Linked DNA regions of Homo sapiens: region 1 is linked to region 2. Evidence: promoter capture Hi-C in human tissues and cell types (Jung and others, 2019). All regions are on one chromosome and are shown on one strand. Each heading gives the region's core, a stretch centred on a gene start or on the middle of the fragment in contact. The rest is flanking DNA. Distances are from core to core; before and after follow the strand shown.

What was found. The method cuts DNA at HindIII sites, captures the fragments that hold promoters and counts their contacts. A contact is called where the count stands out against the background at its distance.
Region 1: a contact is called between a fragment that was not itself captured here and the fragment with the promoter of RAB39B in region 2, in 1 of the 25 tissues and cell types used here (aorta).

What each region holds. Positions count from the first base shown.
Region 1 is chrX:155,012,017-155,017,854 of GRCh38, forward strand. The region is part of intron 1 of F8 (coagulation factor VIII); the gene reads right to left. Among named protein-coding and RNA genes, the nearest start is that of F8, 7.8 kb to the right of the region's middle. The HindIII fragment of the contact is 7,588 bases long and covers 647-5,838 here.
Region 2 is chrX:155,262,262-155,268,929 of GRCh38, forward strand. It overlaps RAB39B (RAB39B, member RAS oncogene family), which reads right to left and starts at 2,230. Exons shown (of 2, transcript NM_171998.4): 1 at 1,813-2,230. The coding sequence starts at 2,027. RefSeq lists silencers at 2,008-2,217, 2,228-2,277. The HindIII fragment of the contact is 17,880 bases long and covers 1-6,668 here.

The DNA of each region.
Region 1 (5,838 bases), core at 3,191-5,690, 250 kb before region 2:
AATGATTACAGGGTTTCTTTTTGAGGTGATGAAAATATTCTGGAATTAAATAAAGATGATAGTTGTACACTTTACGGATTCACTAAAAACCACTGAATTGTACACTTTCAAATGGTGAATTTTATGATATGTAAAGTATATGTCAATAAAAATGTGGAGATTTAGGAAAGGAAAAGAATCTCCACACTGAAAATAAGTGATTTTTACAGTATGTAAATCATACCTCCAAGGAGTGAAAAAATGGTAAGGAAATATTCTGAACTTTATACTATTAAATTCAACAGCTCAGATGGAATTTCTTTTCTTTTTTTGAGACAGAGCCTTGCTTTGTTGCTCAGGCTGGAGTGCAGTAGCATGATCCATAGTTAATTGCAGCCTTGAACTCTTGGGCTCAAGTGATCCTCCTGCCTCAGCCTTCCAAGTAGCTGGGACTACAGGCATATGTTACCACACTTGGCTAATGAAAAAAAATTCTGTAGAAGTCAAGTCTTGTTATGTTGCCCAGGCTGATCTCAAACTCCTGGCCTAGAGCAATCCTGCTGCCTCCTCCCAAAGTGTTGGGGTTACAGGTGTGAGCCACCATGCCCAGTCTCAAATGGAATTTCTTAAAAGAAATTATTAAAATTTATCCTATAAGAAATAGAAAATTCAAATAGCCCTTTACCTATTAAAAATAGAATTCACAATTAAGACCCTTAAAAAAAAAACCAAACCAAAACAAAAAACACTGGGATAAGATGATTTCCCTGGTGAATAAACATTTAAAAAAGAAATGATACCAATTCTACACAAACTCTTTCATTAAATAGAAGAGTGAACACGTCTCAACTCATTTTATAAGAATAGTCAGCCGGGCGCGGTGGCTCACGCTTGTAATCCCAGCACTTTGGGAGGCCGAGGTGGGCGGATCATGAGGTCAGGAGATCGAGACTATCCTGGCTAACACGGTGAAACCCCGTCTCTACTATCAGTATAAAAAATTAGCCAGGCGTGGTGGCGGGCGCCTGTCGTCCCAGCTACTCGGGAGGCTGAGGCAGGAGAATGGCGTGAACCCGGGAGGCGGAGCTTGCAGTGAGCCGAGATCGCACCACTGCACTCCAGCCTGGGTGACAGAGCGAGACTCCGTCTCAAAAAAAAAAAAAAAAAAAAAAAGAATAGTCTTACTCTTTGATATGGTTTGGCTGTGTCCCCACCTAAATCTCATCTTGAATTGTAGCTCCCACAATCCCCATGTGCTGTGAGAGGGACCAGGTGGGAGGTAATTGAATCATGGCAGTGGGGTTTTCCCATGCTGTTCACATTATAGTGAATAAGTCTCATGAGGGCTGATGGTTTTATAAAGGGCAGTTCTCCTGTACAATGCTCTCTTGTCTGCCACCATGCCATATAAGATGTGTCTTTGCTCCTCCTTTGCCTTCCACCATGATTGTGAGGCCTCCCCAGCCATGTGGAACTGTGAGTCCATTAAATCTCTTTCCTTTATAAATTACCCAGTCTCGGGTATGTCCTCATAGCAGCATTAGAACGGACTAATACCACTCTTATATCAAAACCAGACAATGACATTATAAGAAAATCACAGCCAAATATCCATCATGAACACAGACGCAAAAACTAAAAAACCACCATCACCACCAAAACCCTTAACAAAACAGTTTTAGTTGGCCAGGGCTGCCATAACAAAATACTAGAGATTGGGTGACTTAAACAACAGAAACTTATTTTCTCACAGTTCCGGAGGCTGGAAATCCAATATCAGGGTGCCAGCACGGTCAGTTTCTAGTGGAGCCCTCTTCCCAGCTGGTAGATGGCTGCCTTCTCGCTGTATGTTCACATGGCTTTTCCTCAGTGCATGAGTGTAGAGAGAGAACCTTCTCTCTTCTTATGAGGCCACCAGTCCTATCAGATTAGGACTCCATCCTTATGGCCTCATTTAACCTTGTTTACCTCCTAAAAGCCCTATCTCCAAATATAATCATCTTGAGAGTTAGGACTTCAACATATGAATTTGGGGTGGGGGGAGGTGGAGACAATTCAGTCCATAGCGAAAATATTACCAATGTAATATGTCACAACCAGGTGGATTTTTTCCCTGGGAATACATAGCTAGTTCCTCATTAAAAAATCAATCAAGGTAATTCACCATAACAGAATAAACAAGATAAACCATATGACCATTTGAATAGATGCAGAAAAAGCATTTGACAAAATCTAATATCAAATCTTGATAAAAACTCTCACACCAAGAATAGAAGGAAACTTCCTCAATTTGACAAAGGGCATCTATGAAAAAATTTACAAGTAATTGTACTTAATGGTAAAATAATGAATATTTTCCCTCTGAAATCAGGAAGAAGACAAGGATTCTGCTATCATCAGTTCTATCTAACATTGTACTGGAGGCCCTTGCCAGTACAGTAAGGCATGAAAAAAAAAATAAAAAGCATCCAGTTTGGAAAGGAAGAAGCAAACTGTCTTTATTTGCAGACAACATTATTGTATATGTAGAAATTCTAAAAGAAGTGCAAAACGCTACTAGAGCTAAAATGCAAATTAACAAGATTAGAGTGAACAAGGTCAATATACAAAAATCAATTGAATTTCTATATTTTAGTAACAAATGATTGGAAAACGAAAACAAATAAAAATGATACAATTAACAATAGCATCGAATCCCTCAAAATACTTGGGGATACAATTAATATAATTCTTGCAAGAACTACTCTGTAGGCTACAAAATATCCTAGAGGGAAATTAAAGAAAATTTAAAGAAACAAAGCCATACCATGTTGTTGTATTGAAAGATTCAGTATTGTTTAAATGTCAATTCTCCCCAAATTGATCTACAGATTCAATTCAATTCCAGTCAAAATCCCAGTTGGCTATTTGGTGGAGTTGGCTAGTTGACTATAAAATTAATACAGAAATATAAAAGCCTAAATATATCAAAAGCAATTTCAATAAAAAAGTAAGTTGGAGGTTTTAGACTGCCTGATATTAAGACTTACTATAAAGTTACAACAATCAAAACAATCTGGTACTGGCATAAGCACAGATATACACATCTATGGAACTAGAGAATCCATAAACAGATTTGCCTATATACAGTCATTTAATTTTCTACAAAGGCACCAAGGGAATTCAATAGAGAAAGAAAAGTCACACCATACAGAAAATTTAACTCAAAATGTATTATAAACCTAAATACTAATGCTAAAATGATAAAAGTTCTAGAAGAAAACAGAAGAAAGGCTTTGTGAACTTGAGGTGGGCAAAGATTTCCTAGGACAGGGGAAAAAAAAGCATGAATCATAGAAGAAGAAAAGCTAAATTGGACTTAACTACAACTATAAATTTCCACTATTTGAAAGACACCATTTGGAAAATGAAAATGCAAGCCATAGATTGGAAAAAAACATTCAAAACAGGTACCTCTGAATAGTCTTGTACCCAGAATATATAAAAAATTATCAAAACTCAACAATAACAAGACAAACAACCCAATTAAAAACTGGCAAACCATTATCCTAAGTGAATTAACACAGGAACTGAAAACCAAATACCATATGTTCTCACTTAGAAGTGGGAGCTAAATGATGAGAACACATGGACATAGAATAATAGACACTGGAGACGACTAGAGGAAAGAGGGAGGAGGAAGGGTAGCAAGGAGTGAAAAACCACCTATTGGGTACTATGTTCACTACTTCAGTGACAGGATCATTCATTCGTAACCCAAACTTCAGCACCATGCAACATACTCATGTAACAAACCTGCACATGTACCTCCTCAGTCTAAAATAAAAGTTGAAACTACGTTTAAAAACAAAGGACCAATGATTTGAATAGACACTTCCAAGAAGATATAGGAATGGCTAATTAGCACATGCAAAGATGCTCAACATCTTTAGTCATCAGAGACACGCAAATTAAAAGTATAACCAGGTGCAGTGGCTCAAGCCGTAATCCCAACATTTTGGGAGGCCGAGGCGGGTGGATCACTTGAGGCCAGGAGTTTGAGACCAGCCTGGCCAACATGGCAAAACCCCGTCTCTACCAAAAATACAAAAATTAGCTGGGCACGGTGGCGTGTGACCATAGTCCTAGCTACTCAGGAGGCTGAGGCATGAGAATTGCTTGAGCCTAGGAGGCAGATGTTGAGCTGAGATTGCGCCACTGCACTCCAGCCTGTGTGATGGGATGAGATTCCATCTCAAAAAAAAAAAAAAGTATAGTGAGATACCACTGTGCAGTCATTAAGTACTGGCAACATCAAATGTTGTCCAGGATATATTGCAACTGGAACTCTCATGCATTGCTGGTGGGAGTATAGAATGGTACGTTCAAGAAATCTGTCTGGCAGTTTCTCTTAAACATGCACTTACCATATGATCCAGCAATTCCACTCCTAGATATTTAACTAAGATAAATGAAAATAGATGTTCACACAAAACATGTGGAGCACTGTTCATAGCAGGTTTATTTGTATTTGCTCCTAACTGGAAATAATCCAAAATTATGATATAATCCCATAATGGAGCAGTAATCAGCAATAAAAAGGATAGAAATACTTTATACAACAACCTGCATGAATTTCCAAATCATGATGCTGAAGAAAAAAAGCCATAGAAGAATACATACCGTATGATTCCACTGATGTAAAATTCTAGAACATGTGAAAACAAATCTGTAACTTCCAGATAGCAGTTTATTGGCTGAGGCCAGGTCAGTGGGAGAGACTCATTAAAAAGTTGCAGGAGGGTTGATGTAAATGCATGTTGATTAGGGTGGTGGTTATGCAAGTGTATGCATTTGTCAAAACTCATCAAACTGCATATTTAAAATTGATGAGCTTCATTGTATGTAAACTATACCTGTGGCAGGTAAAAATTTGGCCCACATCACCTTTGCTCCTTGGTGTCATGTCCAAAAATATATTATGTGGCAAATTAAACTTTGCAGATGGAATTAAGGGGCTGATTAGCTGACCTTGAGATGGGGAGAGTATTCTGAATTACCCAGGTCGGCCCAATGTAATCACATGAGTCCTTAAAAGTAAAAGAGAGAGGCAAAAAAGGCCAGAGATATGCACGGAAAATTGAAGTCAGAGCAATTCCAAGCATGAGAGAGTGTTGATGCACCATTGCTGGTAGAGGGCACTACATGGAAAGTGAGAGAAGGAACTGAATTTGCTAACATTCCAAATGAGCCTGTAAGCAGATTCTCCCCAAGAGCTTTCACTAAGGAGTGCAGCCCTATTAAAACCTTGGTGTTGGCCTTGTATGACCCTGCACAGAGTATCCAGCTGAGTCCACCTGGACTTCTAACTCACAGAAACTGTGAGACAGTAAATGGGTCTGTCATAAGCTGATACATTTGATGTAGTTTGTTACACAGCAATAGGAAATTAACAGGATATTCAATGTTGACCCAAATACTACAAACTAACTTGATAAACAAATTTAAAAAGCAATTAAAATCATACGTCTAGATTATCAAAGATGAAATCAAAGAAGATATTACAAACTATTCTGAAAAAAATGAAAAGAAAACCCTTCATGCTATACCATTTTACAATGTATACTTACATCAAAACATTATCTTGTACACCTTAAATATATACAACTTTTATTTGTCAATTATACCACAATAAAGCTGGGGTGGGGTGGGATAGAATTACCTGGGGACTAAATAGTTTGCTGAGGATGGGGCCTAGGAATGTAAATTTTAATAAGCTTCCCGAGTGATTCTTATGCACACTGAAGTTTGAGAACTAGTGCCTTCATGGACTTCAGCTTTGGGGTGAGCTTTAAGAAAGTCAGGGTCCAGTTAATGAAT
Region 2 (6,668 bases), core at 980-3,479:
AAAATGGCTCAATGTTAGCAGAACAAGCATTGTCCAGGGACCTACAGTCCAAGCTAGATGATGGTAAAAGTAAAACTTACAAATGACTTTAAGTCTCCAAAATCAGGCAAATCAGCCCTGGGGACTGAAAGCATTTCTCGTCTCTTAGGTTTGAAGATTCATGGAGAATGGTAGATTTACCAGAAAATTTAGACATGAACAAACAAAGGTTTTGATTTGTGAGAAGGTTGATTCAAGAAATCAACAAGCAAGCTGTAGATCACTGTCAAAACTCTGGAATATATTATTACATTAATTGTTTGTGAGTACTTAGCAAAGAAAGTGACAAAGGCCTTCTAAGCATGGACATAAGGCTACATAAACCTTAAATTCTTCCCTACATTAAAAAATCTTAAATAATGTGAAAAGACAGATGATAAACTAGGAATATATCTTACAACATACATGACAGGAAAGGGTTAATATTCTTAATCTATAAAGTACTCTTACAAGTCCATATTGCCCAATAAATAAATAAGCAGTGGATATGAACAGGCTGTTCATATAGAAAGAAATTCCAACAAACACATAAAAGATACCTTTCTTTGCTTAGGAGAAATGCAATCGCAAGTTCAAAGTGAACCTGTACAAGGATATTTTCCACAGTGGTGTTTGTGGAAGTGGGGAGCTGGAGGTAACTTAAGTTTGTAATTATTTCTTCTCCTTACCCCTCTTCAATTACCCAACCAGTATCTTCTATGCTTAGTTAGTTTTCAATAGATAAATGAGTAAATGATCATAAACTTGGGCTATTGAGTTTTCTTGATCTGGTTCCTGCTGCTCTACTTTAGTTCAAATTGTTCTCTGCAAAGTTTTCTGTGTACACTCTGCTCCCTCTCACTTCTGTCTTTATTCATGCTGTTTCCTATCCCTGGGCGTTTCCTGTCTTTGCTTAGGCAGTCATACTCATCCGGTCTCATCTTCTCCAGTTAACCTTTCCTCCTCTGTGTTCATACATATAATTACAAATAATACATGCTACAATAGAAAAGCAAAGGGTTCTGAGTGAAAGTAAACATATTCATTGATTATTCAATGAATTCATTGATTGAAATTAAGCATGTTCATTTTGTGCCAAGTGTTACAGTAGGGAGTGGGCATACAAATATGAGCAAGACACACTTTCGTAATTGCTGATTATCTATTTCCCTCAACTATGTTAGCACAGAAGTTCCAAGAATGAAGGGGCTTTGTCTGTTTAGATTACATGGCATCCCCTTGTGTGAGTCTCCTCACACTGTTTTCCCAGGAACAAGCCCAGAGTCTGGCACATAGTAGATGATCACTGAATGTGTGCTGGTTGCAAGAAGGAATCAATCGTATCTATTTCATGTTAGAACATATGTTAGCATATATATGTGCACACACACAGATGTGGAAATAAAACATAATACACATGTATTTATGTATTTAAATCTCTGTCAGTTATGTTAGGATGACCTGGGAACGTTTTTGAAAGTATGTAACATAGGGACTGAGATTGATGAATTACAGATACAGAGATCAATTCCAGCTAGTTTGTTAGCCACCAAAGGGCAGGTTGGTGGAGTTGTGGTGCAAGCAATATGTGTTATTGACCGGCCTTCCCTGCCAGGGCGCTTCTTTCCTTGCACTAAACTCCGGGTTAGCCGAAGGTGGGCTTCGGCAGAATCCTCAAGACCCTTGGTGTTGCCCTCCTGGACCGCACCTAGAACCAGGAAGTCCTCTCTCCCCAGAGGCGGTGCAAACCCCGAAGACCCTCCCACTGCTTGCGGGCCCGGACTGCGCTCCCACCTGAACCTCTCTTGACCCGCGGTATCCCAGATCTGGAGCTTGATGCGTTTTCCTGGCTCGATCTCCACCAAGCGGGAGAAAAAATCCACCCCCACGGTGGGGTCAGAAACCTGGGCAAAGCGACCCTCGGTGAAGCGGCGGATCAGGCAGGACTTGCCCACTGTGGAATCCCCGATGACAATGAGCCGGAACTGGTACAGCCAGATGGCCTCCATGGCCGCGGCTCTGCAGGTCTCCTTGGCCCGGACCGGGGACGGCGGGAGGGGGCGCCCCGCCGACGCCTCAGAGAGCGCGGCTCGGCAGGATCTAGCTCAGCCGCGAGCGCATCGCTGGCCTGGGAGCCCGAAGCTGGGTAGGCCCAGGCGCCGGGAGAGCGGAGGGATGGATGCTGCGCTCGCAAAGGTGATGAAATGGCAGCAGCATCAGCACCACGCACTCTGACTCATCACTGACAACCGGGTTACTGTAATCCCCCGCGTAGACGCGACGCCTGGGCCGCCGCACTATCTGTAAGAGGAGCGCACACAAAATGGCTGCAACATTAGCGCGATCCCTCCCTTTCTAACTACCCCACCCACCCTCTGTTCATTAAAACTGTTCTCTGTCGTTCAAACTGCCAATGTCATACCTTTTCATTGAAACTAGCAAAGCAATACAAAACTGCACAAAAAAGGGAAGGCACATAATTATATATTAGTCTACAAGTGTTTCCATGCTCACATAAACACACAAATATTATATGTGTTTGTATTCCTATATGCATTTATTGCTGTTTGTTTTTACAAAAATTAAACTGGGGCCTTACTTTCAATTAATAATTGCTTTTTGCAATTAATAAAGCAACATAAATATCTTTCCATTTCCACCTAATTTCCCTTTTGTCATAACTTATTTTAAAGTGTAGCCACAAGTATTTTATTTCTGTGAGCTACAGTCTTAAAAAAGGGGCCATGAATTCAAAGAGTATAAGTATTTTAAATTTAACGGACATGGGCATTCTACTTTCCAAAACTATTTAACAGTTTAAATTCTACCCAGCAATGTGTGAAAAGACCATCGCTCTGCATTATTTCAAGCATCATATGTATGTTTTATTCTTTCTTAATTCTTCTCAATAGAATTTAGTTAAATAAAAATATGTCTCATTGCTTTATTTTTACATTTCTCTGACTACTGATGAGGTCAATACCAAGTCTTGTGTATTGACCATTTCATTTCCTCTTCTGGGAATTGTCTCTTCATATCCTTTGTATTTTTTATGTGTAATTTTATTTTATTTTTTTTTTGAGACAGAGTCTCTCTCTGTCGCCCAGGCTGGAGTGCAGTGGCGCGATCTCGGCCCACTGCAACCTCTACCTCCCGGGTTCATGCCATTCTCCTGCCTCAGCCTCCCGAGTAGGTGGGACTACAGGTGCCCGCCACCACGCCCGGCTAATTTTTTGTATTTTTAGTAGAGATAAGGTTACACTGTATTAGCCAGGATGGTCTCGATCTCCTGACCTTGTGATCTGCCCGCCTCGGCCTCCCAAAGTGCTGGGATTACAGGCGTGAGCCACCGCGCCCGGCCTTCTATGTGTAATCTTTTATCGTTGCCTTACTCTTTAAAAAAAATCAGCTTCATTAACATGAAAATTCACATACTGTACAATTCACCCATTTAAAGTGAACAATTCTTAGCATAGGTTTTTAATATACTCACAGATATATACAACTATCACCACAGTTAATTTTATAACATTTTTATCACTTCAAAAAGTAACCCAGAGGGGTGGGGGGAGGGGGGAGGGATAGCATTAGGAGGGATTACATTTACCTAATGTAAATGTAAATGACGAGTTAATGGGTGCAGCACACCAACATGGCACACGTATACATATGTAACAAACCTGCACGTTCTGCACAGGTACCCTAGAACTAAAAGTATAATAAAATATGTATATATATTTTTTAAAAAAAGGAACCCAGAACCTTTTAGCTATCATCTCTCTATCCCATGTTCCTCCAGCCTTTGGCAACCATTAATGTACTTTCTGTCTCTATAAATTTCCCTATTCTGAACATTTCATATACATGAAATCATATAATATGTGCATTTTTGTGACTGGCTGCTTTCACTTAGCATAATGTTTTCAAGGTTCATTCACACTGTAGCAAGTATCAGTACTTCATTCCTTTTTGTGGCTGAATACTATTCCATCATATGGATAGACCATATCTTGTTTATCCATTCATTCATTGAGGGACATTTGGGTTGTTCCCACCTTTTGGCTATTCTAAATAATCCTACCATCGAATATTCATGTGCCAGGTTTTTTTTTTTAATATCTGTTTTCAGTTTTTTGGGATTTATACCTAAGAACGGAATTCCTCAGTCCTGTGGCAACTCTATGTTTAACCCTTTGATGAAATGCCTGACTTTTTCACAGTGGCTGTACCATATTACATCCCACTGGCAGCCTATGGGGTTCCAATTTCTCCACATTCTCTCTAACATGGATGTGAAGTGGTACTTTATTCTAGTTTGATTTGCATTTCCCTAACGACTGATGACTTCAAGCATATTTTTACATTCTTATTGGCCATTTGTGTATCTTCCTTGGAAAAATATTGACTTAGATCTTTTGCCCATTTTTAAACTGGATTACTAGTCTTTGTATTATTGAGTTATAAGAGTTCTTTATATATGCTAGACACAAGTCCTTTATCACATATATGATTTGCAAATATTTTCTCCAATTCAGTGTGTTCTTTTTTTTCACTTTCTTGAGGGTGTCCTTTGAAAAACAAAGTTAGATTTTTAAGAAGTACAATTTATCGAGTTTCTATTTTGTTGCTCATGCTTCTGGTGTCATGTCTAAGAATACTTTGCCCAATCCAAGGTCATGAAGGTTTACTCATTCTTTCTTCTAAGAGTTTTATAGTTGTAGTTCATTCATTTAGGTCTATGATCCATTTTGTGTTCGTTTTTATGCATGGTGTGAGGAAGGGGTTCAAATTCATTCCTTTGCATGTGGATATCCAGCTATCCCAGCACTCTATTGAGGATACTATTCTTTCTCTATGGAATGATTTTGACACTCTGGAAAATCAATTGACCATGGATGTATGGATGTATTTTTGGACTTTCTATTTCTATGTTAATAAAGCTGATTTGTTTTAAAACAGTAAGGCAATGATAAAAGATTACACATAAAAAATACAAAGTATATAAAGAGACAATTCCCAGAAGAGGAAATGAAATGGTCAATACACATTGGTCTATATGTCTGCCCTTATGCTGGTATGACACTCTCTTGACTGTTGTAGCTTTGTAGAAAGTTCTGAAATCAGAAAGTGTGAGTCCTCCTACTGTGGAGGATCCAATCTTTTCAAAGATTGTTTTGGTTATTTGGAGCCCTTTGCAATTTCATATGAATTTTAAGAACAGCTTATCAGTTTCTGCAAATAAGGCAGTTGGAATGCTAATAGGTATTGATTTGACTCTGTAGATCAATTTGGAGAGTGTTGCTGTCTTATTAAAATTAAGTCTTTCAATCCATGAGCACAAGATGGATATCATTCCATTTATTTAGGTTTTTAAAACTTGTTTTAACAATGTTTCATAGTGTTCAGTGTATAAGTTTTGTACTTCAAGTATTTTGTTATTTATGATGCTATTGTGAATGGAATTGTTTTCTTAATTTCATTTTTAGATTGCTCCTTGCAAGTTTATAAAATGGAATTAATTTTTGCATATTGATTTTATATCCTCCAACCTTGCTGAACTTGCTTATTAGTCCTAATAGTTTTTATTTATTTATTTATTTATTTTAAATAGTAAGTTCTGGGATACATGTGCCGAACATGCAGGTTTGTTGCATAGGTATACACGCGCCATGGTGATGTGCTGCACCCATCAACCTGTCACCTACATTAGGTATTTTTTCTAATGCTATCCCTCCCCTACCCCTCCACCCCCCAACAGGCCCCGGTGTGTGATGTTCCCCTCCCTGTGTCCATGTGTTCTCATTGTTCAACTCCCACTTATGAGTCAGAACATGTGGTGTTTGGTTTTCTGTTCTTCTGTTAGTTTGCTGAGAATGATGGTTTCCAGCTTCATTCATGTCTCTGCAAAGGACATGCACTCATCCTTCTTTATGGCTGCATAGTATTCCATGGTGTATATGTACCACATTTTCTTTACACAGTCTGTCACTGATGGGCATTTGGGTTGGTTCCAAGTCTTTGCTATTGTGAACAGTGCTGCAATAAACATATGTGTGCATGTGTCTTTATAGTATAATGATTTATGATCCTTTGGGTATACACCCAGTAATAGGATTGCTGGGTCAAATGGTATTTCTGGTTCAAGATCCTTGAGGAATCACCACACTGTCTTCCACAATGCTTGAACTAATTTACACTCCCACCAACAGTGTAAAAGTGTTCCTATTTCTCCACATCCTCTCTAGCATCTGTTGTTTCCTTTTTTTTTTTTTTTGAGACAGAGTCTCGCTCTGTGGGCCAGGCTCCAGTGCAGTGGCATGATCTCAGCTCACTGCAACCTCCATCTCCTGGGCTCAAGCAGTTATCCTCCCTCAGCCTCCCGAGTAGCTGGGATTACAGGCACGTGCCACTGTTTCCTGACTTTTTAATGATTGCCATTCTAACTGGCGTGAGATGTTATCTCATTGTGGTTTTGATTTGCATTTCTCTAATGACCAGTCAAGCTACCATTGACTTTCTTCACAGAATTGGAAAAAACTACTTTAAATTCCATATGGAACCAAAAAAGAGTTTGGCAATTTTGTTGTTCTTTTCAAAGAACCAACTTTTGGTTTCATTGATTCTATTGTTAATCTATTCCCTTTGTTTCA